3 separate regions of the Homo sapiens genome follow, and all the other regions are linked to region 3. The links are contacts of gene promoters, found by promoter capture Hi-C in human tissues and cell types (Jung and others, 2019). All regions are on one chromosome and are shown on one strand. The core of a region is centred on a gene start or on the middle of the fragment in contact, and the rest is flanking DNA. Distances in the headings are between cores, read along the strand shown. Region 1 has its middle 34 kb from the start of LINC02264. Region 2 overlaps NDST3 (N-deacetylase and N-sulfotransferase 3). Region 3 holds the start of NDST3 (N-deacetylase and N-sulfotransferase 3).

What was found. The method cuts DNA at HindIII sites, captures the fragments that hold promoters and counts their contacts. A contact is called where the count stands out against the background at its distance.
Region 1: a fragment that was not itself captured here is called in contact with the fragment with the promoter of NDST3 in region 3 in 2 of the 25 tissues and cell types used here (heart left ventricle and mesenchymal stem cells).
Region 2: a contact is called between a fragment that was not itself captured here and the fragment with the promoter of NDST3 in region 3, in 4 of the 25 tissues and cell types used here (H1 embryonic stem cells, mesenchymal stem cells, mesendoderm cells and 1 more).

The regions. Positions count from the first base shown.
Region 1 is chr4:117,798,743-117,801,894 of GRCh38, reverse strand. No RefSeq gene overlaps it. Among named protein-coding and RNA genes, the nearest start is that of LINC02264, 34 kb to the left of the region's middle. The HindIII fragment of the contact is 3,283 bases long and covers 1-2,984 here.
Region 2 is chr4:118,242,725-118,245,844 of GRCh38, reverse strand. All of the region lies in intron 12 of NDST3 (N-deacetylase and N-sulfotransferase 3), which reads right to left. Among named protein-coding and RNA genes, the nearest start is that of SNHG8, 34 kb to the left of the region's middle. The HindIII fragment of the contact is 5,164 bases long and covers 1-3,120 here.
Region 3 is chr4:118,032,455-118,035,737 of GRCh38, reverse strand. NDST3 (N-deacetylase and N-sulfotransferase 3) reads right to left here and starts at 1,252. Exons shown (of 14, transcript NM_004784.3): 1 at 1,146-1,252. The HindIII fragment of the contact is 9,214 bases long and covers 1-3,283 here.

The DNA.
Region 1 (3,152 bases), core at 94-2,593, 230 kb after region 3:
ATTTAACGTTTTCCTGACCCTGGGTAACATTACAGTAATTTTCTTTGACTTTGAACCTTACAATAATGCTGCCCACTATGCTTTTTTTTCTAATCAGTTGTCATCTCATGAATTCACAAATTTAGCTATTTTTTTCCAACTGTTCCATAGCTTCATTATATGCTATAAATGTTACTTCAGCAGTTTCTGGAACGGTCTTATGTACAAATCAGCAAATTTCCTCTTTTTTTTTTTCTGGATATACTGTTTGTTGATTCATTAGCATTTAACTCACGGTCAATAGCCCTATAATTCATGCTTGAATGAAGCTTAACTAACAAATATTTTCTCTGTAAGGCCCATCACAGTCTTCTTGTGTTTAGAAACATAAGATAGCACTTCCACACCATGTTTGAGGCCATTTAAAACAGCAAAATCACCAACAGTAAGTACAGAAATGCAAAAAATGTGGTACTCAATAGATCCTGAATAAGACATGTGTTTACAGTATAAAAACTGAAACAACATGGCAGAGTGTTACCTTGTTCGACCTCAGGAACCTGCAGCTGTCAGGCAACTCAAATATTTTGCCCCTCCGCAAATGCCTTTGTAAATGCCAAGAGTATTGGTTTTGGTTACAGATAAATTTTATCAAGTAGACAAATTTGAAAATACAAAATCTGCAAATAATGAGGATTGGCTCGTGTGTGTGTATTTCTAAATTACTGTTAAAATTTTCATGTAAATCTACTCATAATGTCATTGAAGTCAAAATATGTGATTATTTATAAATTCCTAAAAAAATAATTTCTACCTCTCTATCTCAGTAGTAAGCATAATAGACAAAAGCCCCTGAACTCATGGAGGTTGTATTTGGTAGCGTGTTAGGGATTGGCATATTGTATGAAACTTATTGTGCCTGCATATGGCTGTATAAATTTTAATCATAATAGTTCCTGCAATATTTTGCATTTCATTTTTCTTACCTTTCTAAATTTCAACACCATCCTTTCTTGCTCTGCCTCTGTAAGGCATGCGCCTCACAACTAACTACATACAGTTTGAAGATCTAATCAATGTTAGACCTGTTGATAGCAGAGATTAGCGTTCCCGAAGATTGACATGCTGCTGAGAAGTGGCATGTTGTTTCCTTCCTTTGGGACACCAGTTTGCTTTTAATATTGTGCAGAGTCCACTGCTGACAAGACAGTTAATAAAACTGATATCAGGCACTGTGTCGTATCTGAAAAAAATTAATAAATAAACGTATGCTGAGAAAGGTTCTATTAAGTAGGTCGGCAGTCAGCTTTCCTAACTGTCAGCCACTGTTCTTAGGAGCAATTTATTTTTTACTATTGCTTATTACACATATGCTAATTTTTTCTGGGCCCAAACCCATCCAGCATCATTTGTTGAAAACACTATCCTTTTTTCATTAAATGGGCTTTGATTTTGCCAAAAATCAATTGTTTGGATATGTTTGAATTTATTTCTAGAATTTCTTTTCTATTTAACTAATTTATTTGTCTATCTTAAAATCATTGTCTTGATTACCATAGCTTTATAATGAGTCTTGAAGAAAGGTACTGCAAATCTTGCAAACTTTTTGTTATTTTCCAAAGTCGTTTTGGCTATTTACTGGTTCTTTCTATTTCCATGTCAATTTTAGAATCAGCTTGTTAATTCCTACAAAAAAACAAAAAACAAACAAAACAAGACAAAAAACTGCAAAGATTGTGGTCTGGATTTGCTTTAAGTCTGTAGCTCAATTTGGAGGAAAGTAACATCTTCACAAATTTGAGTTGTTTGATTTATAGACACAGGATGTCTTTTAATTTATTTTGATCTTCTTTAATTTTCCCTCAACAAAGTTCGGTAGTTTTCAGTCTACAGATCTTGCACAGCTTTCGTCGGAATTTAATAATTTTATTTTCCAATTATTTGCTTTCAGTGTAAAGAAATATTATAGATATTTATATTTATCTTGTATTTTGTAAACTTGCTAAACTAACTTCTTCTAGAAGCATTTTTGCAGATTTCATAGAATTTTCTGCATAGACAATCATGTATGAGAGCAAAAAAATTTATTTTCCTTTGCAGTCTGTATGCCTTTAATTTCATTTTTTGGCCTCGTTGCATTGTCTAGGACCTTAGTACAGTGCTGAATGAAAGTGATAATAATGGATGTGGGCTTGTCCCATATCTAGGGGGAAAGCATTTAAAGTTTCTTTCTATTCTTTGTTTAGAGTTTTTATAAGAAATGGATATTGGATTTTGTCAAATGCTTTTTCTGCATCTATGGAGATGATCATACGTTCTTCCTTTTTTAGTCTGTTAATACAGTGAATTAAATTGATAGTTTTTAAAGTGTTAAAACAAGCTTGTATTTCTGGAATAAAGCTTTTATTCTTGCAGGTTCTGCTTTAAACTTTGTTAGGCAGTACCAGAACAACATTTTCATCTAATTTTACACATTGCTAAGATAAAACCCTTCTTCCTAAGTTCAACAATTAAGTCTTCTACTCTGGCTGGTGAAAAAAGAAAACATTCCTGGCTTTGTGCAATTTTTAAGTAATAGTCTTTGTTTTCCTTATCTTTTCTACAAGTTATTTTCCCAATCTTGGGCAATTTTTTTAAAATGTATGTGCAGAGCAGTTCTCAACTAAAGAAGTGAGGAGGTCCTGGCTAACACGGTGAAACCCCGTCTCTACTAAAAATACAAAAACTTAGCGGGGCGTGGTGGCAGGCGCCTGTAGTCCCAGCTGCTCTGGAGTCTGAGGCAGGAGAATGGCATGAACCCGGGAGGCGGAGCTTGCAGTGAGCCGAGATCGCGCCACTGCACTCCAGCCTGGGCGACAGAGCAAGACTCTGTCTCAAAAAAAAAAAAAAAAAAAAAAATGTGAGGAGGACCCTTTGCAGATCTCTGAGTTCCCTCTCTGTGCTGTTCTCCCTTTTCTGGTACTCTGCACTGTGAACTCTGGCTGCTTTGGCTCCCCCACATTTCCATCTCTATCTTTTTGATTCCTGGGTTTCCATTCCTTACCCTGCAGACTGAAAACTCTTAAAACAGTTAAATTAGACAATCTTAGGGCTCACCTCTTTTGTCTCCCTTCTTTTAGGGATGCTTGTCCTTATTTGTCTGATGTCCATTTTCTTGAAAATTGTTTTTTTTT
Region 2 (3,120 bases), core at 472-2,971, 210 kb before region 3:
CTGAAAAAATGGAGCTAATTGTACGTATCACATTGTGTTTTTATGAAGAGAGAGAGATATATAGGACATATAAATGTATATTTATTTTGAACTGTTACAACCACTTAAAAATTTATAATAAGAAATTAGAATAGACTATTTTTTTCTTTTCCCTACTCAGCATTTCTAGGTGTTCTTTCATGCCATCCAGAGAACCAGCAGATTTTAGTTACTGTGGCTACTATAATTTGCTAATAAGAAAGTTTTAGTGTAGTACATTTGTACTAAAATTTATCTACAGTGGGTAGGAAAACAATTCCCGGGCAATATAAATTTCGTTGCCAAGGAAGTTATATTAAAAGCTATTGAAGTCCTTCTGAATTTTGAAGCAGCTTCAGTCCTTCGTGACTTAGCTAACCTCTGTCCACAAAACAAACAAACAACTATACTCAACTCTCGGCTTTCAACTTCTCATTGCCCATTTATTGACATTTTCAAAGTAAATTAATACTAAAAATTCATATAACATAGTCTGGTTTCATTCATCTTGACAAATAGGTTAACTGACTGAGACATAAAGATGCCAGGTTCAGGTATTTAGCTAACTAGTATTTCTAAACATGAAGACATCTGTCATTGGCATTGATGGCTAGGTATTATTGTGAACAGATGTATTCATGGCAAAACTAAAAGTTCATATTTTTCATTTTAGTGTATACAAATTAGTACAATTCCATGCTAAGCATTGTTTTTCCTGTCTTATTTCAAATGATTGCTTCAAAACACTATATAACATGTAACACAAAAACTAAAGTAATGTTAATATATTAATCCCATTTAGGGATTAAGGGTATGTGGAACAAGAGTTGTAAATTATAATTTACTTGATTGAATGAGAAAGTTCTTATTTATATTTTTAAAGCTTATTTTGCTTATTTCATTCACACAATCACTGAGAAAATCAGATTATTTAACATTAAATATGTCATTTAACACCCATGATAACAGTAATAAGTCATTTTAAGACATCACAGATTCTTCAGTGACTTTGTATATCTTTAAAAGTCTTGAACGCTTTCTTTAGCACTTGTGGAAAAGAATAAACAACAATCTTGACATTGGGGGCTTATTGTGATTCTTCTTGAAAATAGTTTTGATGCTGAAATTTGCTATATGGAAGATAATAAGTTTAGAGATATCTTAAATTGGAGTACTCTTTCACACCAAGATTGCATAGCAAAACATTTGTATAGACCTTGCTTCATTCATTTATTCTACTACATGCAAAGCACTAGATTTATGTAGTTAGTTGAGAATTCATATTGGTTTACAGTTTACTATATCCTTAGAGGACTTCCAATGAGAAAAAAAAAATTTTAAGCACCAATGAGATAGTCGTCATTATCACCAGCAGGAAAATAAGAAGAAAAAATAAGAAGCAATACCAAAGTGTACAAAGTATACAAACTGGTATAAATGGCATTTCTGACGATATATATTTTGTACCTCTAGTCATCCTCAGTATTTCCAAAGCACTACAGAAACAGCTATCAGTATAGTTACTCTAATAGGAGTAACTAAATTGTGAAGACAGGTTTCAGATAAACAACTACAAAGGGCATAGGGTGAAGGATGATCAATTTAGACCCAAGACAATGACATGAAACTTCCAAATATTCTACAACTAGTGCACTGCCAGGTTTTACAAGGTATGTCAGGCCAATTGATGATTGACAAGAAAATATAAAAAGAAATGGAATGGAAACACAGTATCTCCACCTGCAGGGTGAGAGCCTGGGTGGCACTGCTGGAATAGAAACTGTGGTTTCAGGGACTACACATATCTTATCTTGCTATTTCACCCACTGAGCCCCCAACCAGGTTAGAGAATCATATAATCAGTAATTTTAGCTAGATACAGCTCAGGTGCAAACGGACTACGGTTCTTTGTATATAGTATGTTGCTTTGATATTCTCTTAAGTTTACACTGCCTTTTCTCAGCAGTGGAGATGAATAAAAAGCTTGCTGCTGAGCTGGCTGCAGAGGGGACAAATACACAGCATGCAGGTCAAGGACCATCCCATAAGAAAAAGCAACTCTGTCTTTATAGAATACTGTACTTCTTTTTTTCTGAAATACAATGCTTTGCTACATACTCTATAAAAAAGACCCACAGATAACCTAACTTGAAATAGAAAACTGTTTAGAAAATAAAAGCTTTCTTTTCCAAGAGATGCTTAAAAAGATACAGAACAGAAAATGGTCTTGAATTTTTAAGTGCAAACTGAAATCACTCAGCTTTCTTTAAGGTCAAGTTGAATGTTAAATACCTAAGGCCAGTGTCTGTGTTAGTACTTGAACTAAGCTATACAAAACTCTGACAGTACTCATAGTATAGAAAACACAGAGGTCAGAAGGTTAATAATAACAGCAAAGTATAAATGACTCTTAGGAAGGAAGCTCAAAACTGCAGAGTTCCACCTACTCCTTTGTCCTCTACAGCAAAATGCCTCCCTTACGTGTCTCTATATTTGATTTGTAGGAGATATAAGCAGTATTTGATGTTTTCCTGCTAATCTTTTTTTCCTGCAAAGTTTGTTGAAAGGTAAAGGAAACCTGCCTCTCACTTTCTAAATTGATATTAAAGAGTACAAAAAAAGGGAAAACTACTCGATCTGTGGAACTGAGTTTTATACTGAAAAACACAATGGAAAAATTCCATGATAGTCTTTTTCAGTTTTTTTTTAAGGCTCAGTCCATGTAATTAAAAAAAAACCAACTTACGGTGTGAGTCAGGTCCATGACCCAATCCAACTCAGTATCTTCCAGTTGCTCTACACATGTGGTAGGAACAAATATAATTCTCCTAAATCTGATTGCCAACTATTCTAAATGGACGCAGTAAGATAGAGGTCTTCTTCAAAAATGCTAAGTGAAGCCCAGAGTCAGCACTAGGGTGAGGTAAGAGAGGCACCTAGGACACAGCACTCAGTCTCAGGCATGGGCACACCTCCGAGAGTGACTGCCTTCTTCAGCCCTAGTTCCTTACTGGTCCCTGGTCATGGACCTTACAGAGTCAGTTACCTAAGAAAATCGGAGGAAACCAGCAAAAAACCATACAAACAAACAGAAAAATCAAA
Region 3 (3,283 bases), core at 3-2,502:
AGAAATGGTAGATACTGTGTTAACCAGAGAAAGAAAAAAAAGAGCTTATCTTAGGCAAGCCTCTTTATATGTTCAGTACTATTTTAAAAAGGAGCCTCCTTCAAACTTATATTTGAAATCTCCATCTTAAATATAATATTGATAGGAAGGTATGGATGAAGAAAAAGGGAAAAAAATTCCCTTCAGCTGAATATCGGATATTCTAGAGTTTCTCTGCCATATCATCCTGCTCTCTGGTGGTGAACAGCATTGCTCAGTAGTTGATAACATGAAATTTTCTAAGGGCAAAAAAAAAAAACAAAAAAAAAGTGTGTGTCCCAGATCAGTTGCACACATCTCAATATTTGATTTGTATTTTAATTTAATACAAATGTATTAAGAATGTAGCTGTTTGCATTGTCTAGAAGGGTTTTCTTCTAAACTCTTCCAGATTACATGTTGCTATATTTCAATATGTTTATAAAGAATATAGATACTAATACATTTTCGACATTAAATAACTCTGATGCTTAAACAGTATCCAGCTATTAGAAAAACTATTTGAAAAAGGATCTGAGTAAACCCCTTAAAGATGTAACTTTGCTTTTACCTGCCCCCACAAAATGGATATATTAAATAGAAGATATATCTGTTTTCTTTAAATTTAAAGTTTCTGTATTTGATACCTAGATTGATTCTTTCCATTTCCATTTAATTTTATTAATTGTATAGTTTTAAATAATGTCTATAAACTGCATCAAATAGAAAGCCTTTTGAGGATCATTACTGTGTAGATAGGCAGGTAGTTTAAAGTCTCTGATATTCCTTACAAAATTCTGTCAAGGCAACAGACATGTGTTCTGTTAAACAGATCTACTTCAGAATCATTATAAGTTGGTGAATATCTTAAACAATTACAAGAGGTCATTTCTTTAGTACCATAATCTTATGAAAGGGAAGCTTTAAAATCATCCCTGAATGAGACGGTCCTTTGTTTCACTTAATTTAATCAAAATACTCTATATTTCTTCTTCAAGAATAAAATGAAGCACTTGTTCAATCTTGAAATTTTTAGATTATTTGAAAGCAAAGTTGTTATCTCTTAAAAGCCCCTACATTTATGAGTGAGGCATTAATGCACAGTATAAATAAATAAATACACTTACCTGGAATTAAAGTTCAGAGCTGAAAATGCTTGAGAAAGTTGCAATAGATGGAAAAGAAACGGAAACAGTACCACTCGTTACCATCGGCTCAGGCTTTTTGACTTTACAAGTGGTAGCAACACCAGTCCTGGCCCAGTACTCTCATGTTATGTAACATCTTATTAATATTAGCCATCAAACTGCTACCAAGCTGGTGAGGCACTAGAGGGCAAGAGTGTCACATGCAAGACCCGTCGCCAAGGGACCGGCTTTGGTACCACTTCGGGGGAAGACAGATGCTAACTAAGCTGATGAATAACAGGATGCCCGAATACAACAGCAAACTTGTAACGTTCCTCAAAGAATATTTTACATGTCAATTTTCTGACTAGCGGAAGAGTTAACAGGTTAATAAATATGAGCAAGCAAATAACCACACCATGAAAAACTTTTAGGATTATATTTACAAACCCACAGTCACTCAAGAGGCTGTTTGTTTTTTTCTTTCCATTGTCTAAATAAACTTATTTAAAACAGGAGAAAAAAGCTGGTTAAATAAAACGAGTGTCGGTTTCAGGACTCCCTCATTCCAAGCCGCGAGAAACTTGTCTGGTCGAGATGCCGCCTCTGGAGTCCGCATTCCAAGGCGCCCGGATCGGGTTTCTGGGCGAGGAGACCGGCCCCGTCCTCCATGGAGATTACCTGGGGCTGCAGCCGTCCGCGGGCTCCTCCTTCCCTCGGGTCTTCGGCCTCAGCCGCTCCCCAGGGCCCCTCGTCCGGGTGGCGCTTGGGTGCTACGCGGTGCCCGGGGTCCGGCGGGGGCGACAAGCGGGCGACCTCTCCCCTCCGCGCCCGGGATCTGCGCGGACACAGCTGGTGGCGACTTCGGCCGCTCAGGCTGCGGCTGCGGGGCGAGCGCAGCGGGTGCGCCGGGGACTCCTGCGCTGGAGAACCACGGCCCTGGGACCCGCCCGGCCGCGCCTCCGCCGCCCTCGCCACCGCCTCCCGGGCGGGAGCCGCCGCCTCCCAGCTCCCGGCCCGCGCGCGCCCGCCCCGGGGAAGGGGAGGGAGCGGGAGCTGAGGACGGGAGCCGCCTCCATCGACCGGGCTCCCGCCCGGACCGGCCCTGAGGATCTGGCTGCCCGGGCCTCGACAAGGAGACCCCGGGGGTTCCGCCCCGGCCTGCCAGTTCCGACCGCCCCTCCCGGCGGGTTGGCGGCGGCCGCCAAGGATGAAACGTCTTGTGCGGCCAGGGAAAGGGGTGCGAGTCCCCGAGGCGACGCTGGAAGGGTGGGGCGCACCCGCGCGGTCCCTTCCTGTGGTGCTCCTGCCGTTGGCACTGGACCAGGGCGGCTGCGAGGCTGCAAGAGTTTCCTCTGTTCGCCAGTTTTTTTCAAATGCCATGTGTTTCAGCTCCTGAAGACAAGTGGAAGGCCAGCAACTGAAGAGATATTTTGGATTCAAGGTGTGAGGTTACCCTCTCCAGAACTATAGTTTGATTAGAAGTGTGAATCGAATGATATATATTTTTAAAAATTTCATTTGGTTCCACTAACATGTGAATTGTATTAAGTGGGGTCTACTAATGATACTTTGTATTGGCCATTTGTGGTTTTGCTTCCCAGCACTCACTCTTGTTGAAACAGTACTCCTGTTCATTTTGGAAGATCCAACCACTTGATCTCACCCCGCAGCCCATTTGCTTTAGGTGATGTCAGCCGCTGCTGACTCACTGGTAGACCCACAGCTCAGGTCTGGCCAGTGATGGCTTTCTGTCCTGGTAGCATGGGTAGGTATGTAACCCAGGTCTGGCCAATCAGAGAGAAAAACAGAAAAAAACCACCATTCTGGGACTTTTTTTTTTCCTTCCTCTCTTAAGAAAGTGGACTCTCTTCTACTGGACTTTGCATAATGAAGATGTGAGCTTAGAGCTTGAAGTCTGAAAATAAAGCTGATACTCAGGAAGGCAGAACTGAGAGTTGGAGAAAAGTGAAACCCAGATGGAGATTTTCGAGCTTGGAATCGAGCTGTAGCTGAAATAAGTTCTATCTCTGGATATTTTCATTCATAAACAAATACATTCACTTTTTTTTTTGATTCGGAGTCGCGCTCTGTCGCCCAGGCTGGAGTGCAGTGGCGTGATCTCAGCTCACTGCAAG